2 separate regions of the Homo sapiens genome follow, and region 1 is linked to region 2. The links are contacts of gene promoters, found by promoter capture Hi-C in blood cells and fetal thymus (Javierre and others, 2016). All regions are on one chromosome and are shown on one strand. Each heading gives the region's core, a stretch centred on a gene start or on the middle of the fragment in contact. The rest is flanking DNA. Distances are from core to core; before and after follow the strand shown. Region 1 overlaps CCER1 (coiled-coil glutamate rich protein 1). Region 2 holds the start of LUM (lumican).

Region 1 (5,234 bases), core at 1,729-4,228, 160 kb after region 2:
ACCCAGAGGAAAACCAGTCTCTTGCCCCGCTGCTGGTGGAAGAAGAGGAGGAGAAGAAAAATGATGATGAGGAGGAGTATGACCAGGAGGTGTGTGATGCAAAGGAGGCGAGCGAGGAGGAAGAAGAGGTCGAAGATGAGGAGGAAGAGGTCGAAGATGAGGAGGAAGAAGAGGTCGAAGAGGCTGAATATGTGGAGGAGGGAGAGGAGGAGCTGGAAGAGGAGGAGCTGGAAGAGGAAGAGGAGGTCCTGGAGGAGAACGAGCAGAGAGGGGAAGAATTTCACTTGCCTCTGGAAATGCCTTTATCAATCTTCGTAGAGGCTGAAGAAAAGAGAGAGAACTTTATAAGCTGCACTTTTTTAAACCCAGAGCAGATAATTCCCAAAGTGCCACAGGAATCCCTGTTCATGGCACAGGACTTTAACTGTTAGACATCAGAAAAGGGATTGAGAAAAGGGATGGAACTGATTTGAGGCTAAACTGGATTAGCAATTTATTAAAAACTGATTAAAAAGTGAGTTCCATTAATAAACAGATCTATGTAAACACCTTCTTTGGCCATTATAAAATGTTTAAAATTTGATGCGTATGTGTATGACTATGGGTGGGTGGTGGGGAAGCTTTCAAATATAATTTTACTGGAACTGATTAAAGGCCAAGTATTTTATTACTACCATTTGAATATTTTCATTTGGTGTTTTCCCCTCTAGAAAACAGAGTTGCTGTTGTTTTTTTAAATCTGGCAATGCTGAAAAAGCGTTTGTTTTTGAAACAAATTTATACAACTTGGCCACTTAATGAGCTTGGAATCAAGAGATAGTTTATTACATGCGTAAGAAGCACATTCTAACGCTACTAAATGTTCACCAGTGCTCTTAACATAACTGAAGCCATTTTCAATCCCTGTATTTTTTCAACAATATTTTTCCTCATAGATTTTTCCACCATCAGAGTTCATTTTTGAGGGTTATATTTTGTTAACCTCATTTGCAGGCTCTTGTGTCATCGCTTATTGATATTCCTTGTTCCACAGTGCTATGGATCTTCCTCAGAAGAACATGAAGTTGCTTCTGTGGAACTGGTTATCTGCCATGGCCTCAACAATCCATAATCCAGTCATGGAGAGGATTCCCCATGGTCAGAAGTCAACTTGCACATCTAGTTAAAGTCCAAGGTAACTGCAAACAGTGGAACATGGCTTAGGTTTTGAAGCCTCGTTATTGGATATAGTCTTTATCCTAAGTTCTGAGGAGCCATAAAAATAGTTTTCCAGAATGGATTTTTTTTTTTAGATAAAAAGATTATCTACCTTTTGGGGGTGGAATATCTTATTTTGTTTTTGAATTTGTCTTTGTTATAAAGAAGAGTAAAACAAAGATGTGTAAGTGTGAGTCTGTGTGAGCTAGTTTCTGATGTCTAAACAGCAATTACCTATGGAGAATACATCATTCAAAGTAATAGCTTTTGTTCAAACATTTTTAGGAAGTAATAATACATTTCTTCCTGGACAGTTGATAAAAGTTCCATCCATAGCATATTTCCAGAATATCCCTAGATGATGAATTTAAACATGCCTTCTCAGAAATTAAATCTTTTGACTTTGAACCACAAGTTAGCATTTATTTGTTGAAGAGAAGAATGTGTGGTGATGTCTTACCTGAATGTTGGTTGTTACTGATATATTACAATTTTCAAGGTGATAAGCTTGAGCTATTAAATAATAAAAAGTATTAAAGTACCTTGCCTCTCATTTCTCATTATTGAAATATCACAAATCCATGCAGCAATGCTTCAGTGGCCAAAAGGATGAATAGAAGAAAGGGGGAAAAAACTTAGGAATTTTAAAATTACACCAAACATTCCAAATTGCAGTGGTGAATAACCAAAACTCTAAGATATCATTACTTTCTACAAGATGCAATTTCTGAATGACCTATAAAATTAAAAGTAGCCATCCCTATGTGTTTTACTGTTCTAATATATATAAGTAGAGGGAAATCAAGAATCCAGCTCCTGAAGCTAGGTAATAAATCCATGCAAGTCATAGCCCATAAATACTTTACTGATGACACTTAATCAAAAGGTCAAAGTTAAGTATGTTCTCACTGGAGAAGCCTTTTTTCATTTAGGATTGAATTTATTTACAATCCCATCTGGACATTTCTCTATTTCTTCCTGCAAAATATTTTAAATTTAAGAATTCACCACATATTAATTGCCTTCATATGCAAAGATGTTATTCACTAGTTATTTTAAGGGATGTAAACATGTGCAATGCCTCAGGAGTCTACATTCTTGTGCATGAACCATTATTCAGCAAATATTGAACTACTGGGGGCCAAGCACTGTGAACAGTGATAAGAATACAATGGTGAATAAGCAAAACCCCATTCTGACATTGTTATTGTTTAGTAGAAAAGTCAGACATTAAATGAGTTAGATGGATTGCTCATTGCAAGTGGTCTGAAGGAAATGTACCACTATAAAAACATAGATCACTAGAGAACCCAGGAGTAAGGCTGAGGATGTTTATCGTGGGCAGAGGGACCCCTAAGTCTAAAGGCCAAGAGCTGAGAGGAGCTTGATGCCTTTGAGGAACTGAGGATAGAAAGACCAGCATGTCTGGAAGCAACGGCCAATGACAAGTGAGAGAAGTATGCAGAATCCATATTATCTATTCTATTGACTTTTATGCCATCCATATCTTCTAGAATAGACACCAGCAAAAATTAATGAGAGGAGAAAACTATTAGTCATTGATGATTCTCTACCTGACCTTCTTCTTTTTTTTTTTTTTAACTAGCCAGATACTGTGATGCTTGCTTTACTAATCCTGATGGCTAATATGAAATAATTAACCCATGTTAGGGGTTGAAGGGATTGGTCATCCCGGGACACCCACCATTCTAACCAACCACTATCATGTAATGAGGGGGATCTTAGGGTTTCTTGCTCAGCATGATTGGAGCACCATAGTTCTCAACTCCCATGGAGAGCCTCTTGCACAGTTTTAGTTTTAGAGGTATGTGTACACATGAAGAGAAAATACAATTTTCCAAAATAAATTCATTATTATTAAAATTATTTCAAACTTTATTGGGTGAGCACAGTGAGGATGAGGTGCCAGTTAGGCATTTCTTTCAAGAATGGAGCTATTCTGCCAGTTGTCAGAAAAATAACGTTATAAATCATAAAACATGATTATAGGGCCTGGACTTGATAAGCGTTGTTGCTGTCTATTCTGAGGTTTTTTTTCTCATGTGGAGATTCTGGCATTTTCATCCTCTAGAGACTGACAGCATTTCTTGATTTGTCTTCATTACTTTGTCTCCACAGTAACCTCGAGGAATTTTATTTGATGTGAAAATATTAGCCCTCTAAAGATGGTAAATACACTTGACATCTAGAGATCAACTCTGAACTCTGAGTATGATTTTATAAAATTGTAGAACATCCGTATATGAGGAAGACAGTATTTGTAACATATTTAGTTCTATTAAAATAAATGTAGAGGTGAAATGACTAATCTCCTCCAGTTAACACAAACCTACAGATCTGGGAAATAAATGATACATCTCCTATAGGTGACCTTGGGTTAAGGGAGTCGATAAGACTAAAAAAAGTCCTTAAATTACAGGTTTTTTTAGCAGCGTAATAAAATGATACATGCAGCCATGTTTTGTATTCAATAAGGTTTATGTTAATGTAAGACAACCGAAAATTACTCAATGTTGTCATATCACCTTGGCCTTGATTATCTATATATTAAAATCAAAATCAGAATGTGGCTATCTTAGCTGTTTCAGTAGCTAAGTAGCATTTTTCTTTATTTAGTTTTAGTTAATTAGTGGAATACAGTCCAATGTCAAGGTCGGCTAATGGAAGAGAAGATTTGGATGTGGCATGGGAAGGCCTGGATGTGTGTTGTCCTGCTGCCTAAGTGACCTGTGATGGTGGCCACTTGCCTTGGGTTTCTCTTTCCTCAGTGTTAGTGATTATACTTTATCACTTAGGTATATTGTGAAGACAAAATACTCAATATTTAAGAAGAATTGTATTATAACTGCAAAACACTGTTGACCATTATATGTTAAACTACATTTTATAAAGTTATCTCACATAATTTCTGAACATTAGTTCAGTCTAAATTTATTAGCAAGACCCAGAAAATCTTATAGCAATTCTATTGGGCTGACATATCAGATATTTCAGTTGTTATTAATACCACAGAACTAAGTATGAACAAGCTTGTCCTTGAAATGTAGTTTTGGCTTCTGGTAAAATAGTGTGTAAATGGACACTTCACATTGTCTACTGCCATGATTTTTAAAGTGTGGTCTATGAACCAGCAGCACTGACACCCAGGTGTTAGATCCATTGCAGAAGCCTCATGGGAATTTAATGATTAAGACTATGGTTTATGCATTCAAAACTATCATTTATTGCTTGTGTGACCTCAGGGTTGTTACTGAAATTTTGACATCTCATTTTCCTCATCTATAGTACCTACCTCATGGATGAAATGAGATTGTAAAGACTAAGTGAGATAATAGTTACCAAGCACTCAGAACAGTGGCATTCAATACTTCCTAGTTACAATAAGTATTCAGTAAATACACAAATGAGGTCATAGACATGTTATGTGGTGTCTAAAAGTTACTTGTTAGTGATGCGAGCAACTATAAGTGTAAAATCTCCCAAAATAACAAAATGATTAATTAACTCTGCCCTATTTCCCCTAGTGTAACTCTAATCAGATACATTACCTTTGAGCTGCAGATACCATTATGCAGACTATATGAGAACCAGTTAAATCTCTAGAGTTGAACTCTTTCCCAAGATAATATTCTCTGTCCTTTATCTCCCCTCTGCCCCTGCCCTTGCCCCAGGTCAATGATGTTTCCTTTTACGGTTGACATTAATGCTCTAATGGTTGGTGCTAAGAATTACCCGTCCTTTTCCATAGAAGCAATGGATAGTTGAATGCATATTTTCAAAATCAAAATCAATGCAACTGTAATACTTGAAAAACAAATTTGTTTGTAGTGGGTTAATAGTTTATATAAGTGATGTGACGACAATCTAACACAGGAATATTTTATGTGTACGTATATCAATATACACATTTGGTGGGAACAAATGCCTGAGTGGGATAAATTGTTATAAATGTTGCTTTGTTGCTTCTCATCTATAATTAAAGTAAAATCAAAATTTTACTTTAGAAAAATATTCGT
Region 2 (5,008 bases), core at 539-3,038:
ATACTCCTGAAAATAGAGTAGTAAAACATACCATAGGAATTTTAATGTATGAAATTTAAAGGAAGAAATGTGAAAACTCTGAGTATAAATCATGGAATATATTAGATCCACTATAAATGTTAATTTCATTTCTTTCTATTGGACCCTGAAAATATGCTCTGAAACGCACAAAATTATTCAATTATTGGTTTCACAGAACTGATTTTATTAAAAAGTATATGTTGACAAGACTTTACAATGAGCTAAATCCAATATAATGCATTTGAGGTCTGTTATAAATACCACAACACATGTATTGCTTTATAAAGAAAAATCTTAAGGAATGGATAGGTGGAGTTTTTCTAACAAGAGCTCAGATTATAGAATTTGATACACTCAAAATTAATACATAGCATTGTTTTAAGAATCCTCTTATAACAAGATCACTTAATTATATTCGATTGATTTGTCTTTTTTTCTTAATTCCTTATAAATTTATTCAGTTACTTTGTTGAAACTGAGGCCTATCAATAATTTTCTTAAAATAATATTAGGAAAAATGTTATGTTTATGAATCATCTTACAATTCCATTAGTTACTTTCAAGAAGATTACTTTTTGTTTTTGAACACTGCTATTACAAAAATAAGCCATTTATTCTAATAGTCTTTTTTTCGGACAAATGCAGTATTAGTCATGGAGTTAATTTTCCACAAGTCTCACTGCTAAAATGTGATATAGTTATTTTTAAAGACAAAAATACAATGTGACAACTTATATTAAAATATATTGGTGTAAAAGTTCTTATAAACATGAGGAAATGAACATTTTAGAAAAAAATCTCATAAATATATCTGATAAAATCACAAAATGAAATAGACAAGGATTTAAGTACATCTCTCATTTGCTGAAACCATGCATCAGGAGCTGATAATGAAAGATATATCCAGCCAGGCCTTTGGGAGATTATAACTTTGAATAACTTTTAACTTTGAAAAAAAATTACTAGCATGCAATGAAAGATTCTTGCCTTGTGATACTTTTAGTATAAATTTATTTTTTTCTCTGTTCTTTTATGTTTTTTGGCATTAAGCTATAGAATGCTCTCCCCAAGTAAGGTTTTGGGTGAATTCCTAAACGAAATCCACAAAATAAAAAACAGGCAAGACTTTGCTGATTGGTTCCAGACCTGAATAACATAAAATGAGTCTCCTTAGCATTAGAAGTAAACTTGAAATGTTGATATTTATCATGTGTATCCAAGTGTATATGAAGCATATTTTATATTTTTAAAACTAATGTAAGCTACCCTCATGGCCAAAAAATTAAGTTAGTCCAAGTAAATCAATATTGATTTCAAAAGTGATAGGCAAAGGGATTCAATTCCTCTGAGTCTGTTCATTTGCGTTTTCCTGAAATTATTTGCCCTGCTTATGATTTCTGAGATCTTTAGATAAACATGATAGTTGGCTGAGCACATTGCACTTAATTGTTGCCACAGCCACAGATGTAAAGAGGCTTGTAAGAAAAATGTTCTCACAGTGAGCTTCCTTATTTGAAGCAGGACTCAATTCTTGGTTAAAAGCTATGGTATTTGAGCTAGTTAAACACATATCTCTCTCCCATTCCATAGGGAATGAGCTGGGCTGTCCTTTCTCCCCACGTTCACCTGCACTTCGTTAGAGAGCAGTGTTCACATGCCACACCACAAGATCCCCACAATGACATAACTCCATTCAGAGACTGGCGTGACTGGGCTGGGTCTCCCCACCCCCCTTCAGCTCTTGTATCACTCAGAATCTGGCAGCCAGTTCCGTCCTGACAGAGTTCACAGCATATATTGGTGGATTCTTGTCCATAGTGCATCTGCTTTAAGAATTAACGAAAGCAGTGTCAAGACAGTAAGGTAAGTGCTGTTTTAACTATTGCACTGGGGATGTTAACTGTTTGGGACAGCGTTTTTTGTAACAGGAACAGGAAAAATTCCAGAGCAATTTTGCCAATTGCTATTCAACAGCAAATCCACAGTTCTGAGCATTTAGTTTCACATTTTGTTAATATGTTTTCCATGATTTATAGATTTGAGATTTTATACAGTATATGCTGTATTGCTTGGCAAGAGAAGTTATAAAAAGTTTCAAGGTTAGAATGAGAAAATAGTTAAAGTAGACACAGTGAAAAAATATAGAAATTAATATGTTTGTTATGTATGCTAGTTAGTTATATATGTTAGTATTGGACCCTAATACTGGAGCAAAGAAAAGTCATTTTAATCAGCATTCAAAATATCTTTTAATAAGCATATTGTGACAATTTGTTATAATTTACAATAAACGTTCTATGTTATAAAACATGAGCTAAAAGATTTAGGAACTCTTATGGATTATTTATTTCTGTTTTGTTAATTTAAAAAATTTGTTTCTTGGATATATGCCTTAAGGAACGAGTTTTTTAAAAAGTTCTGGGAAATGATTTCGTTTTTGAAAACAGCATTTTCTCTATAGCCACAGGTATTTGAAAAAACTGAGGGTAGTACAGTGTGATTTTGCCTCATAGTGGAGTCATTATATGGTTGCAAACTCTCATTCAATTCAGCATCCTTGTTTTTACTTTGCCAAAAAATATGGAAGCATTTTTCATTACTATTTAATACTCACATTATAGTTGCCATATTTTGGTGTATAGTAAATTTAAAATAGCTTATTAATAAAGCAAGACAAATCTTTACAGTATTTACATTCTATAACTTAAAATAACTCTGGGAATATGTCATCACGTTCTTTTTAGTGCTATGCAATTATTATTATGGCCAAGTTCTGTCAGCAAAATTAAATGCCCCCATTAAAATCTTAGAGAGTAATTTACTGAGAATCTGGCTACATGTTACCTTATGTCAGCAATCAAAGTATTTCTAAAAGCTGTTTTATAACGTTCCATCTGATCTGAAATAAAGTGCCTTACAATTTCAAATTAAAACAAATAAAAGACGTTTTCAGTTTCTAACCCCAAAGATCCTGCTTATCCCAAACTACTTTGATCCAAAAGCTTGTAATCATACTTTCATAGAAAGATATAATATTCTCAGTTATCTATTAGAATGTAGATCTTTCGTCACATTAATGATTTATCTCCCAGGGCTACCAACTTTGCCTCAGCCACAACTGTTCACTCTATAAAAGTCTAACTCTTATATTCCAATTTTCCCATATCTAAATTGCTGCACCTAAGACATTGAAATGTACTTTTTTGAGCCTCACCTTAGAAACATGTTCCTATGAGAAGATAACTGTTACACATTATTTCAAATTCATATTCTCAATTGAATAATTTACTAGATAGTTCTAACACCAGTATTAAATCCAAACTTTAAAAACATCACACCTCTCTCCCACCTCCATTCTGTGAGGCCACTAAAAGCCAGATATGCAAACCATGGCATCTTCGATTTTGGCATGAAGAAAGTAGAGAACTTGTGAGTAATTGAGAGAGACTATAACTCTAATTGAAAACTTGGAAAATACTATCTTTCTCTACCTGTTGAATCTCTTTCCAGAAAGAGAAACCTTCAGAATGTGTGACATTTTCCTGATAAACATTAGCAATTATTAAATATTACTAATATTTTGTTTAGTAAATAGCTAATTTATGAAATATTAGTTCCAGAACACAGTTTTGCAATGTGCTTTAAAAAGTGTAGAATGTTAAGCACAACATGAACTAGTATGCATGCACACCAGCACCAAGAATTCTGTTCTCCTTCCTCAGAACCAACAGTAACCAGACACTTTTAAAGGAATGTGCCTTCCATTTCCCTCCCACATACAAGCAAAACCTCAGGTTGCCCATATTCCCGTAAGGATCTTCTTCATGAGTCATTTTAATGATGTCGAATGGTAGGGTAGAGTATACAGTTAAAAACTGTCTTCTCATTCTCTTTTTTTGAGAGATGATCTGAAGCAGTAGTCTAATTCGGTGGTCAATGAACACCACCCAGAAACCTCTTACAGGAAGGCATTTCATTAAGGAAGAGCCTGGAGATTGACTGGAACAATTAGGCTGGGCTCGCCCAGAAGGGGGCGCACGTGTACGCAATCTAACCTGAAAGCTGCTCACTACATAGTTGTAAACATACACCTTTGTCCTCATACCTAAATAAAAATTTAAAAGACGCTGTTAGATGCACTAAAAATAGCTATAAAATAACAAAATGCACATTTTCTAATGAATTTAATGTTGCAAATTGAATGTCTTTTTCTTGAAAGTATATATTTTTTTAATTAATAAATGTTTCATCTTTATTTAGGATTCAAACCATTTGCCAAAAATGAGTCTAAGTGCATTTACTCTCTTCCTGGCATTGATTGGTGGTACCAGTGGCCAGTACTATGATTATGATTTTCCCCTATCAATTTATGGGCAATCATCACCAAACTGTGCACCAGAATGTAACTGCCCTGAAAGCTACCCAAGTGCCATGTACTGTGATGAGCTGAAATTGAAAAGTGTACCAATGGTGCCTCCTGGAATCAAGTATCTTTACCTTAGGAATAACCAGATTGACCATATTGATGAAAAGGCCTTTGAGAATGTAACTGATCTGCAGTGGCTCATTCTAGATCACAACCTTCTAGAAAACTCCAAGATAAAAGGGAGAGTTTTCTCTAAATTGAAACAACTGAAGAAGCTGCATATAAACCACAACAACCTGACAGAGTCTGTGGGCCCACTTCCCAAATCTCTGGAGGATCTGCAGCTTACTCATAACAAGATCACAAAGCTGGGCTCTTTTGAAGGATTGGTAAACCTGACCTTCATCCATCTCCAGCACAATCGGCTGAAAGAGGATGCTGTTTCAGCTGCTTTTAAAGGTCTTAAATCACTCGAATACCTTGACTTGAGCTTCAATCAGATAGCCAGACTGCCTTCTGGTCTCCCTGTCTCTCTTCTAACTCTCTACTTAGACAACAATAAGATCAGCAACATCCCTGATGAGTATTTCAAGCGTTTTAATGCATTGCAGTATCTGCGTT

Evidence for each region. Contacts are between HindIII fragments. The CHiCAGO score rates a contact against its expected background, and 5 or more counts as called.
Region 1: a contact is called between a fragment that was not itself captured here and the fragment with the promoter of LUM in region 2, in 1 of 17 cell types (M2 macrophages). The highest score is 5.2, in M2 macrophages.

The regions. Positions count from the first base shown.
Region 1 is chr12:90,948,719-90,953,952 of GRCh38, reverse strand. It overlaps CCER1 (coiled-coil glutamate rich protein 1), which reads left to right. Exons shown (of 1, transcript NM_152638.4): 1 at 1-1,738. The coding sequence ends at 431. Among named protein-coding and RNA genes, the nearest start is that of CCER1, 3.8 kb to the left of the region's middle. The HindIII fragment of the contact is 2,543 bases long and covers 1,707-4,249 here.
Region 2 is chr12:91,108,274-91,113,281 of GRCh38, reverse strand. LUM (lumican) reads left to right here and starts at 1,788. Exons shown (of 3, transcript NM_002345.4): 1 at 1,788-1,884; 2 at 4,282-5,008. The coding sequence starts at 4,303. The HindIII fragment of the contact is 5,015 bases long and covers 1-3,025 here.